2 separate regions of the Homo sapiens genome follow, and region 1 is linked to region 2. The links are contacts of gene promoters, found by promoter capture Hi-C in blood cells and fetal thymus (Javierre and others, 2016). All regions are on one chromosome and are shown on one strand. The core of a region is centred on a gene start or on the middle of the fragment in contact, and the rest is flanking DNA. Distances in the headings are between cores, read along the strand shown. Region 1 overlaps LOC105373188 (a long non-coding RNA gene). Region 2 holds the start of DDX3X (DEAD-box helicase 3 X-linked).

Region 1 (4,604 bases), core at 1,082-3,581, 1.6 Mb before region 2:
ATTATTGCAATAGCCTCCTCACTGGTCTCCCTGTTTCCACCATTGTCCCCTTAATGTCAACTTGCCAGAAAGCAAACAGAAAGATCCTTTAAAAACAAAACTCACATCTTGCCACTCTGCTCAAAATCCTCCAGTGGCTTCTCTTGTCTCTCAGAAGAAAATCTTAACCATGGTCTCTGAGTCTGGCCCCTGGATCTCTCTTGACTTCACCTCCCAACTCTCTTTCCCTGGCTCCTTCTACTCCAGGTACTCCTTGCTGGACCTCTAACATGCTAACAGCTCCCATCTTCTGGGCCTTTGCATTTATGATTCCCTCTCCTAGAATGCTAGGATTTCCCCTCTAGAAATCCTCACTCACTTACTTCGTCATTTGATTCAAATCTCTACTTACAGATAATCTTTAGTGGACTTTGAATACTTGATATAAAGTATCTTGAAGTAAATACTTGATATAAAGTATAAAGACCTGAATACTTGATATAAAAAGGCATGAGCATTCCTCTGTATAACTCTCCATCCTTTTGCCCAGTCATATTTTTCCTCCTAACACTTGTCACAACTATATGTGTGTATATATATTTGTTTATTGATTCACTGAAGGCTTGTTTCTTGAGAATAGATTGTCTATTTTATTCTTTGTCTATAGAGAGCACCTAGAAGAGTGCCAGACACATGGTAACAGCTCAACAAGTGCTTGTTAAGTGACTTATATAAATTGCATGAAGCCTCAGAAAGGTTCTGGGAAATCTTAGAGAAAAATTTGAGAGAGCCTTACTATAAATGAAGTAAATGCTCAGAATCTTCTCAAAAGAGAAGCTGAAAGCTTTTATTCTGGCTCAAGAGTTGATGCTGCTTTGCTGAATTGCTGAGATAAATGTCTCTGTGGTGCATTTAAAATGTTGACTATCCTAGATTACTTGAAAAATACTTCCATCCAGTTACCTATAATCTTTCCTGGGACAATTATCAAATGTGCTTGTTAACATTAAATTTATCTTTCTGTTAAATGTTTTGCATTAGCTGTGATCATTTTTGAATAGACAAAGGGTCATACATTGTGCCAGACAAATTCTTTTTCTATCTCATCAGTGAAGAAAAAATTTCTATCCGTACATGACATACTTTGGATTTGTGGAGTTTTGAAGTTTCTACATATTTAATATGATTTTAATCCATTTAAGCTCATAATTTATTTTGTAGTCAGTCTTTGGAACCACACATTCTCCCAGCTTGGATAATATTTTCATTTGAGTATGGACATAATTTGGATCCTACTTTGAGCAAACTATCTTGTAATGGCTTTCTCATATGTCACCTTGTCTAGGCTGAATTGCATTTCCCAGAATTTTTTCTCTTGTTTGTTTTGAGTTGAGGTAAGACATAGGGAAGATTCTTGAGACATTTAGAGGCTGAAAGAGAAGCAGTGGCCATTTTGTGGCTCACACATATTGTTGCTGATCTGTAGATTCACCCTACTGGTGTGAAGCAGCATCTGATTCTGTGGCTGCTCTACCTGCCGCTGATATTCTTTCAGCTTCTCAGACTCCTAGACCAGGGGTGTGTGTTTCACTTTGTGACAAAGGGCCCCACTTCTGCTGGATACCCTCATTACCAAGGTTAGAGGCAACAAGAATGAACACAGGTTTTAGTCCTTCTCCACGGAGTTCCAGCTTAAGCTTGTTGGTTCCAGCCTGCTTGTGTTTTTCCTTTTCTGACTGCCATCCCTGTGATCTTGAAGCCTCAGCATCATGTGTGAGAAAACAGCCATACAGAGACTGCTTAGCCAGCTCCTACAATTGCATAAGGCCAATTCCGTATAACCAATTTCTCTCTCAGATAGAGGAAGAGATACATATAGCTATAAATAAAAATATAGATAATATAGAGATACCAGTAGTTCTCAGCTGGAGGCAATTTTCACCCTCAGGGAACATTTGGCAGTGTCTGCATACGTTTTTGGTTGTTACAACTTGGTGGAGGGTAGAGAGTTGTGCTACTGGCATATAGTGAGTAGAGGCCATAGATAAACCCACAATTCACAGGACTGTCCCCCACCCTCACACCCCAACAAAGAATTATCCAGCCCAAAAGTCAATAATGCCACTCTGCAGAATATCTGATATAAATATAGAGATCTAGATAGATACTAGTTTTTGCTTCTCTGATTAAATGCTAACTGATACAGATTTTAATACCAAGAGTGGTTCCAGGGGGATAGAATCTTAAGTATGAATTCTCTGACTTGGTTTTGAGTCTTCTCTAATATGATTAAATTTAAAAGCACTAATGAGTCTACTTCTAGCAGTAAGAAGGGCACTGGTAGTCAATGGCATGATGTGGCAATAGAGATACACAAAATATCCCCACTGGTTACTGTTAGGGTCCACCCAACTGGACTGTTTCCCCCTCCCATAGATCTAAGCCCCAAAGGCCAAAAGCAAAACACCCTACCCCAAACCCTCCTGTAACTGTTTGACCAGAGGCCAGCTGCTCCAGGATGTGGTTAAGACATCTACCTTGCACAACAGAACTGGCAAGAAAAACATCTCCAGGAAGTGGTCAGACACCTGGCACAAAGGACCCCCCCCCCGCCCCGTCTCTTTTCTTTTTCCTTCACCTTGACCCAGTTCTACACCCTATAAAACCTTGCTATAGCCTGTAAGTGGGGCTGCCTCCTCTGCTTTTGTCAAGAGGTGGCCTGGCAGGACTGACAATAAATCAGCTTGCCTGAACTTGGGTCTATTGGCCTCATTCCTTTCTCGGCCATCCTTCCAATTATCCCTTACAGTTACTCCTAATCAAACACTTACAGAAGACAAGGTTCTGGGTGACCATGTATTTGATGCCTTAGCACATTTTAGTCAAACCAAGGAGTACAATGAGGTTGGCTGTTTGCTCCTAACTGCGTGGGAGAAAGTAGGGAAAGGATAGGCTCGGGAATTTGAATTATCAGCTCAAAGTCCACATAAAGAAACTGAAAGCTTCTGTTTGCCCTGAAAGAAATTCTTATCTTCCTTCCATAGCCACAGGGCCCTGAAAACCAAAATTCAGAGTCTCCGCCCTGCCAGTGGCTGAATGATGCAAAGTGATTTCTCAGCCTTGTAGCCTCTGTATGAATATAAAGCTGGAATGGGATCCTATGGGCAGATTCTCACAAAGCTGGGGACTCTAACCCCTGAGTTCTGCTGAGCCTTTTTTGCCAGTAGAAGCAGCCTTTCTACTCCTGTCTTGAGAAGATTGGCCCTCCTTTGCCTGCCTTTCCTGAGGTAGTTGACTGGTAAGGCACTGCTGATCCTCTTTAAGACCTACCCCCACCACCTCTCTTTGCTTCTAAACCTATAACTTACCTGAAGTCCCAGCGGGCTCAGAGGGGTAAAGTACAAAGTGTAACCCATGAGGAGCTGCTATGCATACCAAAAGCATTGTACAGTTTTATCACTTTATATAGTCAGAAACCTGGGGGATATGCATAGGAATCAATTTTAAAGATATGGAGTCAAAGTGAAAGGAAAATGAAGTTGGATTGGGCAGAATTAGTTGATATGGGCCTGTATTCATCAGCTTGGCGTGCCATAACAAAATACCATGGGCAGGGTGGCTTAAATAACAAAAAAATTATTTTCTTACAATTTTGGAGGATTGAAGTTCAAGATCAAGGTGCCAACAGGCTTAGTTTCTGTGGAGGGCACTTTCCAGCTTGCAGATGGCTACCTTCTTACTGTACCTTCACATGGTCTTTCCTCTGGGCATTCACGTGGAGAGAGAGAGAGACAGCGCTGATGTCTCTTCCTTTTCTTATAAGGACATCAGCCCTATGGAATTAAGGCCTCACCCTTATGACCTCATTTTACTTAATTATCCCCATCTCCAAATATAGTCACATTGGGGGTTAGGGTTTCAACATACACATTTTGGGGAGGAGGCAACAATGCAGTCCATAACAGGGCCAACTAAGCAAATATTCTAGATTCAGTGTTTCAGGTTGAGGGGCTTGACAGTTTACTTGGTTGGTTGGCTGAAACATGGACCCAAAAGTGACCTACAATAAATGAAATCAAAATATGCCAGAACTTTTGGGGTATACTGTAGAGGAAGATATCTAAAGGCTTAGAAACATTTGAATGTTGGAGTGTCTTTATCATATAAGACCTACTCATTCACCTTGAGAGGGCTCTCAGAACACACCCTTTACCCTGGCTATGAGAAATAAATCTGTAAGGGGAGCTCCAGCATCCTTGATGAGCTTTGTGCTGACTATTCATTATAGACCAGAAATTATCATGGGAACTGCTACCATAAACTAGGATCCCTAAATGTAATAACAATGATAGACTCTTGAGACGACAAAGGCCAAGTGGCAGTGGCAGCACTTAATTGCCTTTGTAAATTGAATTGTGTTCCCTCAAAAAGATATGTTGAAGTCCTAGCCCCCAGTATTTGTGAATGTGACCTTATTTGAAAATAGGATCTGTGTAGATATAATTAAATTAAGATGAGGTTGTAATGGATTAAAGTGGTCTTTAATCTAATGACTGGTGTCCTCATAAGAGGGAAATTTAGACATAGAGATGCACAGGAAGAATGCTGTGTCATGACGAAGGCAG
Region 2 (5,037 bases), core at 446-2,945:
GGAAAATGGTAAAACTGGGAATACTCTGTGCTGCTGGTAGGTTGTTAAAGTGTCTGTTCAATTCAACATGTGTCAGCAATTAGAGGATTTAATATAATTGGTTCATTAACGGGTAGAAAATGCTTCCAAAGGAACAGATCAATTCCTAAAAAATATTACATATGACTACATTAAACTATGTATTCAATTAATTTGTGCCACTAAACTTCGTCTCAGGATTATTCCGGAGTTTGTGAAATCAACGCTCCCCTAATCACAGTAGACAGTAGTTTATTTAAAAGCTCCGCATAACCCACACAAGAGCTTATCTGAAGCCTGGTGCCACTGTTGCGGTGGGATGCAGACTTCCTGCCACCAAAGTCCATAACCTTCTCCTCTCAAATCACACATCTTTCTCTCCTCTGCCCCTAAACCCTTAGAAGAGGGGATTCTGGCTAAGAGAAAAAACCCGGGGGCCTGGGACCCATTGCAAGATTCTACTCCACAGATAGCAACAAGTCAACAACAAAACTGTTTACTTCCCCCCTAAGCCGGGTGTTTTTCCAATGGCGGATTCCTGGATCACAGTCACTAACACGAAGACACTACCACAACCCGCGATGACCCCTCCACCCCAGAAAAACAACGCGGGACTCCCGGCTAACATACCACACAGGGACAATCTGGGGCAAGCAAGGAGGAGAAAGGGCCTCGCTGGCTCCCTAACCTCCCCGCCACGTCCAACCTCTATCTCCAGGGCCCAGCGCGCAGCGGCCAATTCCTGCCTCCCCTCCCCGCCCCCACCCCTCCCCCACTCCTCCCCAATCTTCTGCGTCACAAAACTTTCCACTCCGGAAACGCAGCCTCCCCGGCTGCGGCGCAGGGCCCCCGGACCCTGCGGAACCTGGGCTGAAGCGAAAAAGCCAGCGGAAGGAACCCGGGAAAAAACAAGAAACCCATTCCATCCTCCTTTCCAGGCCTTCGCCCGCCCGAGACCCGCCGTCTCCCGGAGGTGAGCCACAGCGCCGCCCAGCACCACACAAAAGAGGCCGCCGCCATTACCCCGAGCGAAGGCCGCCCCCTCCCACATTCCTGGGCCGCGTTCTACCCCTTGCTCGCAGGCACGCAAACACCGGGTGCCGCCAGGTCCTCCGGACGGGAATCCAGGCTGCGCCAGCCGTGAAGGCCGAAGCCCTCCAAGCCAAAAGGGCCTCCAGTCGCGTCCCGCCGCGCTGCGCACTCCCGCAAACCCCCCCAGGTCACTAATCAGTCGGGATTCGCGCATGCGCGTCCCCGCGAGAGCGCGCGCACTTCCTCCCCCTCCGCCCGCCTGCGCACGCACACACAAAAGCCGCCATTGTGCTCGTCCCGGGGACAATACAGCGGGCCGAGACCGGGCCCGGGCGACAGCCCCAACCAACATTCCTATCCCTCTATAGCCCCGGGGCACTCACACCCGCCAGCCCGGGGCACCCAGAAAATGAAAAGTAAGGGTGCCGGTTAGCGCTGCGCCATTAGCCAGGTTAGGTCAGGGGAGGAATTCACGCAGCAGCCAGCCCGGTGGGGTTCTTGCGGCTCACCTGCTGGTCCAGCCCGAGCGCATTTTCCACTGCCACATGACTCATCCCTGAAGAGTACCGAGAACTCGGAGTCTTCCGCTGCTAAGCGAGTGTTTGTTCCACCGCGAAGGCCCTCTCACGGGAGAACTGCGGCTCTGGAGCGCACCGCGCGGCCACGGATCTAATATACCCGCTGGAAAGCCGGCTACGTCAGCACGTACAACGTGTGCCCTCCCTCTCACACCGCAATTCCCTGTCGCGGCGACTTCTGCCCGGCTACTGCGCGCTCCCTCAGGTCTAAGCTCAAGGGATTTCCTACTTAGTCCTGTCGCCCCTAGCAGTCCTGCCTTGGAGCTTAGGGTGCGAAATGCTGTCCCAGTTCTCTCGAGCTACACTTCCCGTGCTCTCCGCTAAAACCCTAGTCTCAGCCTCGGAGTTCTCGAGATCTCGCGAGAACTTGCGTCTCCCGCTTTCCACCGGCTAAGACGCCTGAAAATGTTAACCTAGGCCTCTTCGCCCCCCTTTCCAACCTTACGCATTCGCTCCCCTTTCCAACTCTATGCACTCAGCTTTCGTTTTTCGTTTTTTTTGTTTTTGTTTTTTTTTTCCTAACACTGGCCTTCACTCTTCTTCCTCTCTCAGTTCCCGGGCTTGGAGATGTGGTGGGATTTCTCCGGTCTAATCTGCCCTCGCTCTTCCGCGGGTAGCCTCCCCTTAGTGGGAGCTAGGCAGATTCCCGAAACTGAGAGGGCGGCAGGCCACGTGACCGTAGGTGTCGCGTGCGGTGGCCATTTTGTGAAGCAGGAAACGGTGGCTTGAATATAGAGTGCTCCGGACGGGGGAGGGGAGGGGAAGAGGAGGAGAGAACAGAGGGAAGGGGAGGAGAGGGAGGGAAAAGAGGGGAGCGGAGTAAGGGGAAAGGAGGAGGGAGGAGGGTAGGATGGTGACCGGGGCGGGAGTCGGGGGGAAATGGAGGGGAGCCGGCGGCGCGCGCAGGTGGCCGGACACCTTCCTGCGCGGTTGCCTAGGCAGCGGGGGCGCCGCCTAGAAACACACAATGGCCCCTCCTGGCCAACCCCCCGACGTGTGCGCGCGCGCCTCCGCCCCCGCCCCCCGCGGTGAGGGAACAATGAGACAGACACGCGCTGATCCGGAACCGCCGCTGGCGCGCCCTCCCGGGACCCCGGCTCTCCGCAGGAATGCGGGCTACATTTGCCCCTAGTTTCCTCCCGCGGGGCGCCCAGCGGCTTAGGGCCGGTGACCACCGGCGTTGCGGGGACCCCGCGGGTGGCGAACGGCTCTTCTAGGGCCCAAGGGTGTCGGGAATGTTTGTAGCCGGTGCAACCTGGGCCTGCCGGAGGGGCTGCAGCGGGGTTACCGGCCTGGGCTCGGGGTGACTCTCAGGCCGCTGCGGTGGATGAGGAACAGGAGGAACCGGGTTTCTACCGTCGGTGGAACCTCTTCCTGTGGTTCCCTCCTAGGCAGGCCACCCCAAGTCCCGGCTTCGGTGCCGCAGGCCCTTAAATAGAAGAAGGTGTTTACTAGTGGATTCCCGGCTTTGAGCCGGCGCCCGCACATCCGTAGTTTCTTATGACCGCTTTCCCCTCTCTTCTGACCCTCAGCCCTACGAAATTAAATAAAACGCAGTGGTTTCCACCACCCCCACAAAAGGTCTTCTGCTGCCAGAATTCAAATAGTTCGTGCTCATCACATAATTTACTATACACATAACTTCTCTCCCTTCTCAATTTTTAAAATCGAGACGGAAATTCGAACGAGATAGGGAGAGAATATCACACTGTCGGGGGCAAGTTGTTTAACGGCTTTGGGTCTCAATTTGCTCATCTATAAAAGGAGTCTGCTACATTCCATAACCCTGTGAAAGACCCAACTCCTTTTCATAACGAGTATTTTCTAACGCCCCCTTTACCTATACTGAAATAACAAAACCTAAATTGTTTATGTAAACCTACAAACACAATTTCAAAAAACATGATCTGTCAACAAACGAAAGCAAAATGATTATAATAAAACAATGTATTATAATATGTAAATGCCGCCGCACAGCTACACTAACTGGTGGGAAGACACTTGCCCAGTAGAGCCACAAATGCAAACTGGAAAGGTGTGTTGATTTCACAACTCAAGTTCCATGAGCAGCATTGCTACTAGGAACCTCATTTTCCAAAATGATGAACTATTAATAATTTTTAAATAAAACAGTACAATCTTCCTTCAATTGAAACAGTACCTGCATTTGTGGAAAATTCAGGATATATGGAAACTGGGCAAAGATACTTTGTGTTCATATGTAAAACAGTGTTAGTTCTAGGCTTAGATGATAATGAACTAGTTTTTCACCGACATGTGTCCAGTGATTCAATTATTCGCTCTGTGGGACTGACCAGCATCATAGAACATCCTAGCGTGCCTGGCTCCTGCCCACTAAATGCCAGTAGCTCTCGCCAGTCATTGTGACAACCAGAAATACACAGATTTCTACAATGCCCCTTGGAGAGCCACTAGGTTTAATGATATTAGGGTCCCTTCCTGCCCTGAGATTCGTGGATTCTCATGGAGTTTTGGTGAAGGACCTCGGTTTTGTTTCAGTTTCGTTTTCCTATGAACCAGGGTAAACATGAGTCAGGTTCGAAAACTGTGAGTTCCGACAGCTCTTCAAACTGCATATAGCAACAATGGGATGCACTGACTACCCTGGTTCTGGGCTTTGTTTTACTTTTGAGTAGAGCCGAGTACAGGGTACCGCCATGGGAGTACCTAAAAGAATTGAAATATACAGCAGTTCCCTATTTTCAATTAACCCCTGCTCATAGGCATACTTGGTTCAAACCACCAGGGTATTTTGTTAATCAATACGTTATAATTGGAATATCCAATTGGAGAGGAAGCGGGAAAACATACAAAGCTTTGTCTTTAAACACATTCACTTTGAAAAAGAATGATGTGCACACTTGAGGCAGCTAAATAAATGAGCCAACTTTCACAGCACTCCGAATGACTTTTCCGTTTAGCAACATTTGCATATTTTCTCCACATGGCAGTTATTTGCAAATTTTATTTGAAGTGACCTAAAAAAGGGTTAGAAATGGCTGAAACCAGGCCGGCCGCGGTGGCTCACGCCTGCAATCCCAGCACTTTGGGAGGCCGAGGCGGGCGGATCACGAGGTCAGGAGACTGAGACCATCCTGGCTAACACCGTGACACCCCGTCTCTAAAAAAAATACAAAAATTAGCCTGGGCGACAGAGCAAGACTCCGCCCCCCCCCAAAAAAAAAAAAGAAAGAAATGGCTGAAACCAGGGAAATTTTTTTTTGCACGCTCCCTTTCTTAATGTTTCCAGGCATTTTAACTGTTCATATTGAAGCAAATGTACTTCCTGCAACACCGCCCCCTCCCTCCACTTCCACCCCCATTCCTGGAGGTAGCGCAGTGAACCAGAGCCTGGGAATTGCAATTCCTCTAACTACCAGTTCAGCTC

What was found. The method cuts DNA at HindIII sites, captures the fragments that hold promoters and counts their contacts. A CHiCAGO score of 5 or more calls a contact.
Region 1: a fragment that was not itself captured here is called in contact with the fragment with the promoter of DDX3X in region 2 in 1 of 17 cell types (fetal thymus); the score reaches 6.4 in fetal thymus.

Annotation. Positions count from the first base shown.
Region 1 is chrX:42,941,726-42,946,329 of GRCh38, reverse strand. LOC105373188 (a long non-coding RNA gene) reads right to left here. Exons shown (of 5, transcript XR_949037.3): 5 at 1,274-1,790. Among named protein-coding and RNA genes, the nearest start is that of PPP1R2C, 170 kb to the right of the region's middle. RefSeq lists a silencer at 1,763-1,822. The HindIII fragment of the contact is 1,305 bases long and covers 1,679-2,983 here.
Region 2 is chrX:41,330,820-41,335,856 of GRCh38, reverse strand. It overlaps DDX3X (DEAD-box helicase 3 X-linked), which reads right to left and starts at 1,695. Exons shown (of 17, transcript NM_001356.5): 1 at 1,560-1,695. The coding sequence starts at 1,604. RefSeq lists an enhancer at 2,065-2,294 and a silencer at 2,385-2,874. The HindIII fragment of the contact is 5,677 bases long and covers 1-4,466 here.